2 separate regions of the Homo sapiens genome follow, and region 1 is linked to region 2. The links are contacts of gene promoters, found by promoter capture Hi-C in human tissues and cell types (Jung and others, 2019). All regions are on one chromosome and are shown on one strand. Each heading gives the region's core, a stretch centred on a gene start or on the middle of the fragment in contact. The rest is flanking DNA. Distances are from core to core; before and after follow the strand shown. Region 1 has its middle 43 kb from the start of MMP7. Region 2 holds the start of MMP20 (matrix metallopeptidase 20).

Region 1 (3,994 bases), core at 357-2,856, 52 kb before region 2:
AATCCTTAAGATTTTCAACAACTTTCATTCAGAACAATCTTGAAGATTTTATATTTTCTTTTCTGATTTCTTCTTTGATTTTGGAAACAAGAAATAGAAAAATGAAGACTAAAAAACAAAAACTTCAAAAAAAGTGTGCAACTTTTGTTGAAAACTAAACTATGTTCTTGAGGTGGGAAAGGATGCGCTTACTAACACCGGACAATAATTAAAATCTTGAGATCATTTTTCACCTGCCTTCTTATATTTTAATGATTTACGTTGTCCTAAATTCCACATAGAATGTGGAGGAAATCAAAAGGAATGTAGATAACAATTTAAGGCTTAAGTCCTAAATTTCTATTGGGTCTCAAACTCTTCCTTGAACTCAAGCTTTTTATATCTATCTACCTACTTAAGCTTTTTATGTATGGACATTTCCCCTTGGATGTGTAATAGGCATCTCAAACTCAATGAATTCAAAATTACACTCTTGACCTCCAGCCCCCGTAAACCTGCTCTTACTTTGGTCTTTCCATTTCACCACTACTCTTTCACTTGTTTAGGCCAAAAACGTTGGAGTCATTGTGGATCCTTCTCTTTTTATTAAATTCTGCATGCACTTTAGATACAAATACTGTTGGCTTTACCTTGAAAATATTCCTCAATCTGACAATCTTAGCATTTTCACTGCCACTTCTTTGGTCAGTGCCACCATCATTTTTACCCTGGCAAATGGCACTGTCTAGTGTCCCTGAATCCATCATGTGCTTTTATAATCTGTTTGCTACTCAGCAGTCAGATCATGTTATGAACCTGCTGAAAACCCTTCTTATCACAGGGACCCGCAAGGCTTCCATAGCTTGGTTAGCTGCTTCTCTGATCTGATCTGTTTCTACTTTCCTTCTCCCTCACTGTCTCCAGCCACACTGGCCTTCCTGGTGTGCCTAAAACAGGTGCAGATCCTTCCTACCTACCTCAAGGTCTTGCGCTTATTGCTTCTTCTACCTGAAACTTCTAGAGACTTCCACAGCTTCCTCCCTCCCTTTAGTTATTCTGCATGAATACCCTGGACCCAGTATGTCCTTTTCCTAAACATATTTTTATAAAATGGCACTCCAACGTTCTTTATTACTTGCACTGCTTTATTTATTTTTTCAAAGCACTTTCACTATCTTTCATTATAGATCTCTATTCATTTGAATATTGTGTGTCTCTTTAATGGAATGTAAGCTCCTTGAGGGCAGGAGTTTATGCAAGAAAGCAGCTGAGCATAGGTTGGTGCCAGCACAAAGTAGGCGCTTAGTAATTATTTTCTAGTGAATTGAGAGTGAATATTAAGGATAGAGATGGGGGGGTAGCTAGATCCTTCAAAAAGGCTGAATTGGCTGTTTGTAAAGATGAACTAATTTTAGAAATTAAGCATTTCAAAAGAAACCACTGATAAAATTACTCACAGAAATTGCTGATTCATATATGGAAATACATTTAAAATCTGGCAAAGTGACATGCTACAATCATTGAGCAGTCTGCAGTTCAAGTGGAATGGGCTGTAATGGGACTTTTGACATCCATTCTCTATAGAGGCAGCTGTAAACACATTTAATACCCAACTCAAAAACTCACATTGTTTATCACTGCATTACAGACCTGGGACTTTCCAAGAATAAACAAATTGCTAACTATTTATACAGACATTCTTTTTTTTATGGACATTCACTGCAAATGATCTGAGATGGACTTAAGCGTTACATTTCTTAACTGATGTTTTGCAATTGTTTTCTCATTAACTCCCTCCCATGTTTTCTCTTCTCATCTCTCCTCAAACTCTTGTCAGAACAACATGCTGCATTGTGCAACAAAAGTTTACTTTCATCTCCAAACATGTTAAATGATACATTAGATTAAAGGAAAGAATGTTAAGACTAATGGAGAAGACATTAAAATGAAGAGATGTTGCATTAAAAAAAAAAAGAGTCCTATTTTGGATCCCAAAGCCATTCACTAATTTCCCATTGTAATTTATTTACCAGCAAGCTTCCCAATTCTGCTTCTAGTTCAATTCCAAGGGTCTAGGTGTTGGGAGCAAACCTGAAATTATGACATTTTGAGTATAACAGGATACCTTTTAAACTGATCATGTTGACAAGCCACGTAGGGATTGGAATGAGACCAAAGACAGGAGACTTGGCAGATGACAGATGATCAGAAGATGCTGTTTCTACTTTTTACCCAGACCTACTGGGGAGAAATGCCGACGATCTTTTGGCTTGGACTCTTCTAAGCTCCATTATGGTAGTCTAAAACACCAACCTATTGGCCAGCAGTATGCATTTCCTCTCAAATGGCACTTCATTGGGTAATTTTAGCTATGAATATTCACAAAGAACCTTCAATATCATTGTCTGTAGAAGAAAAATAACTAACAGGAATAAAGAAAAACATCTGGATAATATATAAATAAAAGCACCCTGAAGACCCTGTGAGCATTTAAAAATATTATACACAGAATTCTGAATGAAAAACTGCATAGTTTTTTTGCCATTTGCTTTGTGAAATGGACATCTAAGGTGTTTTGCAATAAACATTTGAAAAGAAACAGAAGACCCAAAGGCAAACTTAGGTCTTTCATTTAGGACTAGGCTAAATGGAAGAGGGCTTGGTTTATACCAGAGAAAATTTAATATGGAGCTGTTAGGAAAGCTCCCCAAGGAGGTGAATCCATTCATCCTTAGTAGCCTGTGTAGTGCTTTCAAAGGTTCAGCCCACAAAGAGTCATCACTGAGATTAATAGGATAATGCATAGAATTCATCAGGAAGTGAACTCTGTTTTGCTACCTCGTGATCCTCAAGGGAGTACTTCAACCACACTTTGTCCAAAACTGTTATTTAATAAGTCATGTTTGCACTCAGTTACTCTGAAGTCAAATGAGTAGTTTATGTTATAAATTATTTCTGCACAACGTTCTTGTATCATATGAGGATAAGTGCTCTGTGTTATGACACAATCACACCTTCTTGTGCTTTAGAGAGACTGTATTTTTCCAAAATACATACTAATTTTATATCTGAGAGCAAAGAGCTTTCTTCTTAAGACAGGGTCTTGCTCTGTCACCCAGGCTGGTGCAGTGGCACAATCTCAGCTCACTGCAACCTCTGACCCCTGGGCTCAAGTGGTCCTCCCACCTCAGCCTTCCAAGTAGCTGGGACCACAGGCATGCGCCACCATGCCTAGCTAATTTTTTGTATTTTTAGTAGAGACAGGGTCTCACCATCTTTCCCAGGCTGGTCTCAAACTCCTGAGCTCAAGTGATCCATCCACCTTGGCCTCCCAAAGTGTTAGGACTACAGGTGTAAGCCCCTATGCCTGGCCTAAAAGCCAAGAATTCTTTAACTCAACAAAAAATAATGATTTATAAGAATTATTTTTTGGAGATGGGGGATAAACATAGTATTTTTAATTATTTGATTTAATTTGACATTTGGAAGAGAAAAATTTCAGGTCATTGATTATCAATTCTTGTGATATTATAGCTCATCAGATGTTTAGCTATCTCAAGGGACATATACAAATTCTCCAAAATATCACCAAACAAAATGAACTCTAATGGCTTCAAAAACAACAATTATAGAGCCCCTGTAGAGTGCCAGGGACTACTTTGCATATTTTGACTCATATATTTAAGGCTCTAAATATCCTTAGGAGATAAAAACTGCCATTATTCCAATTTTATAAAGGAAGACACTGAGACAGAGAATGAGGATGAGGGAATTTGGTCAACATCACACAGTTGAAAATAGAAGATCTGGAGTTTGAATCCATCAGTCAGACCTGAGAGCATATGCTTTATTGCTTTCAGTGAATTCATTGACTAGTGAAGTGTCTTCTGTATGCACGATTCTGGGCTAGTGCTGGACATGAGGAGGACATCTGGCTGGTTGCGTGCAGCACTGGATGTCCTCAGGCTGGTGCTTCATTGTCATGTGGTCCCTGACACAGTTGCCAGAATGCATG
Region 2 (3,977 bases), core at 1,253-3,752:
TTACTGCTTTTGTTTGTGATTTTATGAGGCTGATGAGGTTGTTATATAATGTTTCTATAAATTATAAGGTGGGATGTTATTAAATAATTGTTTCCTGTCATTGTGATCCTCATTAGAGGTTCAGCCAGATCATTCCAGGCTCCTGAGTGTCCCTGCCCAGAGCTGAGGACCAGGGCCATTGCAAGCAAAGGTGCTGTGTGTCAGGTGAGGAGATGTGGACAAGTTTCCCTGCTCCTTGGTCTAAGGTCTTTCTGAGAGTATGTCATAAGGGAGACAGAGAAGGGTTGATTTATTTTGGAGAGGAAGAAGTAAGGAATCACTAAAGGTCCCCAATATTCCCAGGCCATGCTACTGTTTCTAAACGTGCCTAGCTGACTCCTGACCAGCTAGAATAGCAAGAGTGACTCCACCCAAGAGTGTCTAGCCCAGGGGTCCCCTGATCCTGGGCTGCACCCGGAAACCAGTCTGTGGCCTGTTAGGAACCTGGCCCCACAGCAGGAGGTGAGTGGCGGGCCAGCATTACTTCCTGAGCTCTGCCTCCTGTCAGATCAGCAGAGTCATCAGATTCGCATAGGAGCAGAACCCTATTGTGAACTGCATGTGTGAGGGACCTAGGTTGCATGCTCTTTTGAGAATCTTATGCCTGATGATCTGAGGTGGAACAGTTTCGTCCCAAAACCATCACCCCTCCAGCCTCCTACTTCCCACGTCCATGAAAAACTGTCTTCTATGAAACTGGTGCTTGGCTGGTCTAGCCTTATTCCTTAATAGACTGGTCAGGGGTGACTAATTTTTTCTGCAAAGGACCAATAATTAATATTCTTTGCTTCTAGGCTAACCTCTGCCATTGTGGCACAAAAGCAATCATAGACAATCTGTAAACTAAGGGGCAGGGCCAACTGTAGTTTTCCTGAACTGTGGATTAGAAGGGGGGTCTCCCAACACCTCAGATCCATTCTGGCCTCAGCATGGCTCTCCTTCTGGAGGTCACAAAACCTCTTTAGTTTCAGAATCACAGTGGCATGAGGCAGGGTAGGGAAAATTACATTTGGGAAGAAGGCACCTAAAGCTAGGTGGCATGGACAAAATACAATTGAATAAGGATCCCAGTATCCTGAGTTATTTTGAATTTAGTTCATCTAAAAGTGGGCTAAAGTCAAAAGAAGTTCAGTTCAACATGGTTGTGCTGGGCATCAGCTGTGCTGTTCATCTGCGGGGCTGATATTTAAGTGTTTAATGACTGGTATGGCCGGGGAACTGACCAGTTAATAAGGATGAGTGGCAGAAACAATCGGTAGGGACATGCCATTGCACATGGGTGCAAATCAGCTCTACGATGCAGACAGCCAAGCGGTACACAGGTGCAGCCTGGCAGTCAGGAAAGCAGCCCTGAGGCGGAGCTGGTGATCACAGATGTGCTGTAATGTTGGCAGACTCTTGAAAGGGAGGCCTGTGTGCAAAAGCATTTCCTCTATATATCTTTCACTAATGTTGGAAATTCCATCCGTAGACATCCATTTCTTTAGGTTAAGGATGCCACCCTTCTTTTAAAAACAAAACACGCTTGGAAGCATATATATATATATATATATATATATATATATATATATATATATATGTAGAAATCATTTTGAGTCAAGCAGTCTTTGTGAAATATTTGAATATGGATCATTTCTATCAGACCCTTTCCAGCAGTCATAGAGGAGAGATCTCAAAAGAGGAAAATACACAAAGTTTAAGTACATAAACGTTGTACTTTGTACTTACTACATAAACTTTGTTATGTACTTTGTACATAAACTTTTACTTCATTGGGGAATATGCTTTAGGGAGAAAAGGCCTTCAAATGAGAAGTGGGTTGGCACCCAGGAAGAACTTAGTCCACTTTAAATTTTGATCAGGGTTACCTTGAATATAAGAGCCATTTAAAAAGTGGAAACACAGGAAATCTCCTTGTTGTGACCGCTAAAGCTTAGCACTAAATTCACAACCTGCCTCTAGCGTGTGGATTATGCCTCGGTTTTTATTTTTCTGCTTCTATTTTTCCTCCTACATCATTCCCGGGAAGTACTTGTTTGCTCCTTTTATATTGCATGGTTTTCACAAGCCACCTGGAATTCTTTATGAAGCAAGATAGCTAGGTAGATATATCCTCATGTATTTATTCAGTCATGTAACATGGTACACCTAATATGCACCAGACACCAATCTAGGTGGACAGAAGATAGCATCAGTTAGACTTCAATGGACTTATATAAAATGATTTTAAAAGAACAATAGAATTTTTTTCTTATTTTCTCACTATGCCCTTTTAGGTTTTCTAGGGCAGAGGAGCAAGAAGGAATTGGGCAAAAATTCACAAACCTGTGCGAGGCGGTAGTTGTTCCTCCAGGTCCTGGGGGAGGCTGCAACTAGGGAGGGGGCTGCAGTGGAAAACTTCAAAGCCATGATGAGGAAGACAGCAAGGCCAGATGCAGGGAGCACCTTCATCCCCTCACAGTAGCTTGGTAATTATATCAGCCTGGGGGATGGCAGACAGTGCACGTTTGCACTTCGACCTTGAGCTCCTTTTATAGAGTCAAACAGGTCTGGACCCTCCGAGCAAGGATGATTCATGTCTCAAACAGTAATTATACAGCTCATTTCTCTCCCTGATGATGGGGTAACACAACTGTACACAGGAATCAGGGAAAGCTTCATATTTTTTTTGTTATTTACCAAGTGGCAAAAGGAGAAAAACAGTCACTTTTAATGAAGTTGGTCAGCTAGTTACAAAAATTGAAGTAAACTTGATTGATTTGAACCCAACTCAACTGAAACATTTGATTAGTCTTCATTTGGGGGCCTTTTTCCATTCTGATTACAGAAAAGTTAGATGATTACAGTATAATTGAATTTGTCCTCCAAGTAATCCCAAACTCCCCATGCATTCAACCCAATCGCCTGTATCTCCTGCATTCACTTCAAAATTTCTTAGTAGCAACTGCTGTTCATAATGATGGCTCTGAGACACATAAGATCCTGAATCATCAAGGCAAGATTACATTATACTGTGCTGACTTAGGGTGGAAAGTGAACTGGTAACTGTTAGAAAGCTTTTGGATGAATTAAGGCAAGAGTTACGTCTTCGTTAACCAAAACAATAGCCAGAACTCCCCAATCTCTGTGTACTCTGGTTAATTGGAGTCATATTGTTTTTCCTGGGTCTGATTAAGATGGATTTGGATCCAGAGATGATACGGTGAAATGGTGTCATATGGTGGGAAAAGCACTTAGAGTCAGACAAAGCAAGACTAAATATTTAAAAAGATATTTCCTAGCTGTGTGATGTTGGGTATGTCATTTAATCTCTGAATATCAAGTTTTTTTTAATCTACAAAAGACTGACAATACTACTACTATGTATAAACTTTTCAGTGTTATGGAGTAACACATATAGCATGACATCTGCAAGCACCACTTGGCATCCACTAGATGTGGATTCAAATCCTAATTTTGATTTTAGACTAAATTCAAGGTTATTCCTATAGTGAATACAGTGAATTCCTATAGTCTTTCTCACTCTGTTGCATTTTGATATGCTTTCTTTGCATGGAAGAGAAGATGGTGGAGTTACAGCCAATGTTTGGTATCTAGTGTACAACCCCAGGCACTGAACAAGAGTTTGTCACACATTAATATGGTTTGGCTCTGTGTCCCTAACCAAATCTCATCTCGAATTGTAATCCCCATGTGTTGAGGGAGGGAGGGGATTGGATCATGGGGGTGGTTCCGTCATGCTGTTCTCATGACAATGAGTGAGTTCTCACAAGATATGATGGTTTTATAGGTGTTTGAAAGTTCCTCCATTGATCTTCTCTCTCCTGCTGCCTTGTCAAGAAGGTGCCTGCTTCCCCTTTGCCTTGCACCATGATTCTAAGTTTCCTGAGGCCTCCCCAGCCATGTAAAACTGTGAGTCAACTAAGCCTCTTTCCTTT

The links. The method cuts DNA at HindIII sites, captures the fragments that hold promoters and counts their contacts. A contact is called where the count stands out against the background at its distance.
Region 1: a contact is called between a fragment that was not itself captured here and the fragment with the promoter of MMP20 in region 2, in 1 of the 25 tissues and cell types used here (mesenchymal stem cells).

The regions. Positions count from the first base shown.
Region 1 is chr11:102,571,282-102,575,275 of GRCh38, forward strand. No RefSeq gene overlaps it. Among named protein-coding and RNA genes, the nearest start is that of MMP7, 43 kb to the left of the region's middle. The HindIII fragment of the contact is 3,164 bases long and covers 25-3,188 here.
Region 2 is chr11:102,622,830-102,626,806 of GRCh38, forward strand. MMP20 (matrix metallopeptidase 20) reads right to left here and starts at 2,503. Exons shown (of 10, transcript NM_004771.4): 1 at 2,365-2,503. The coding sequence starts at 2,490. The HindIII fragment of the contact is 4,717 bases long and covers 1-2,894 here.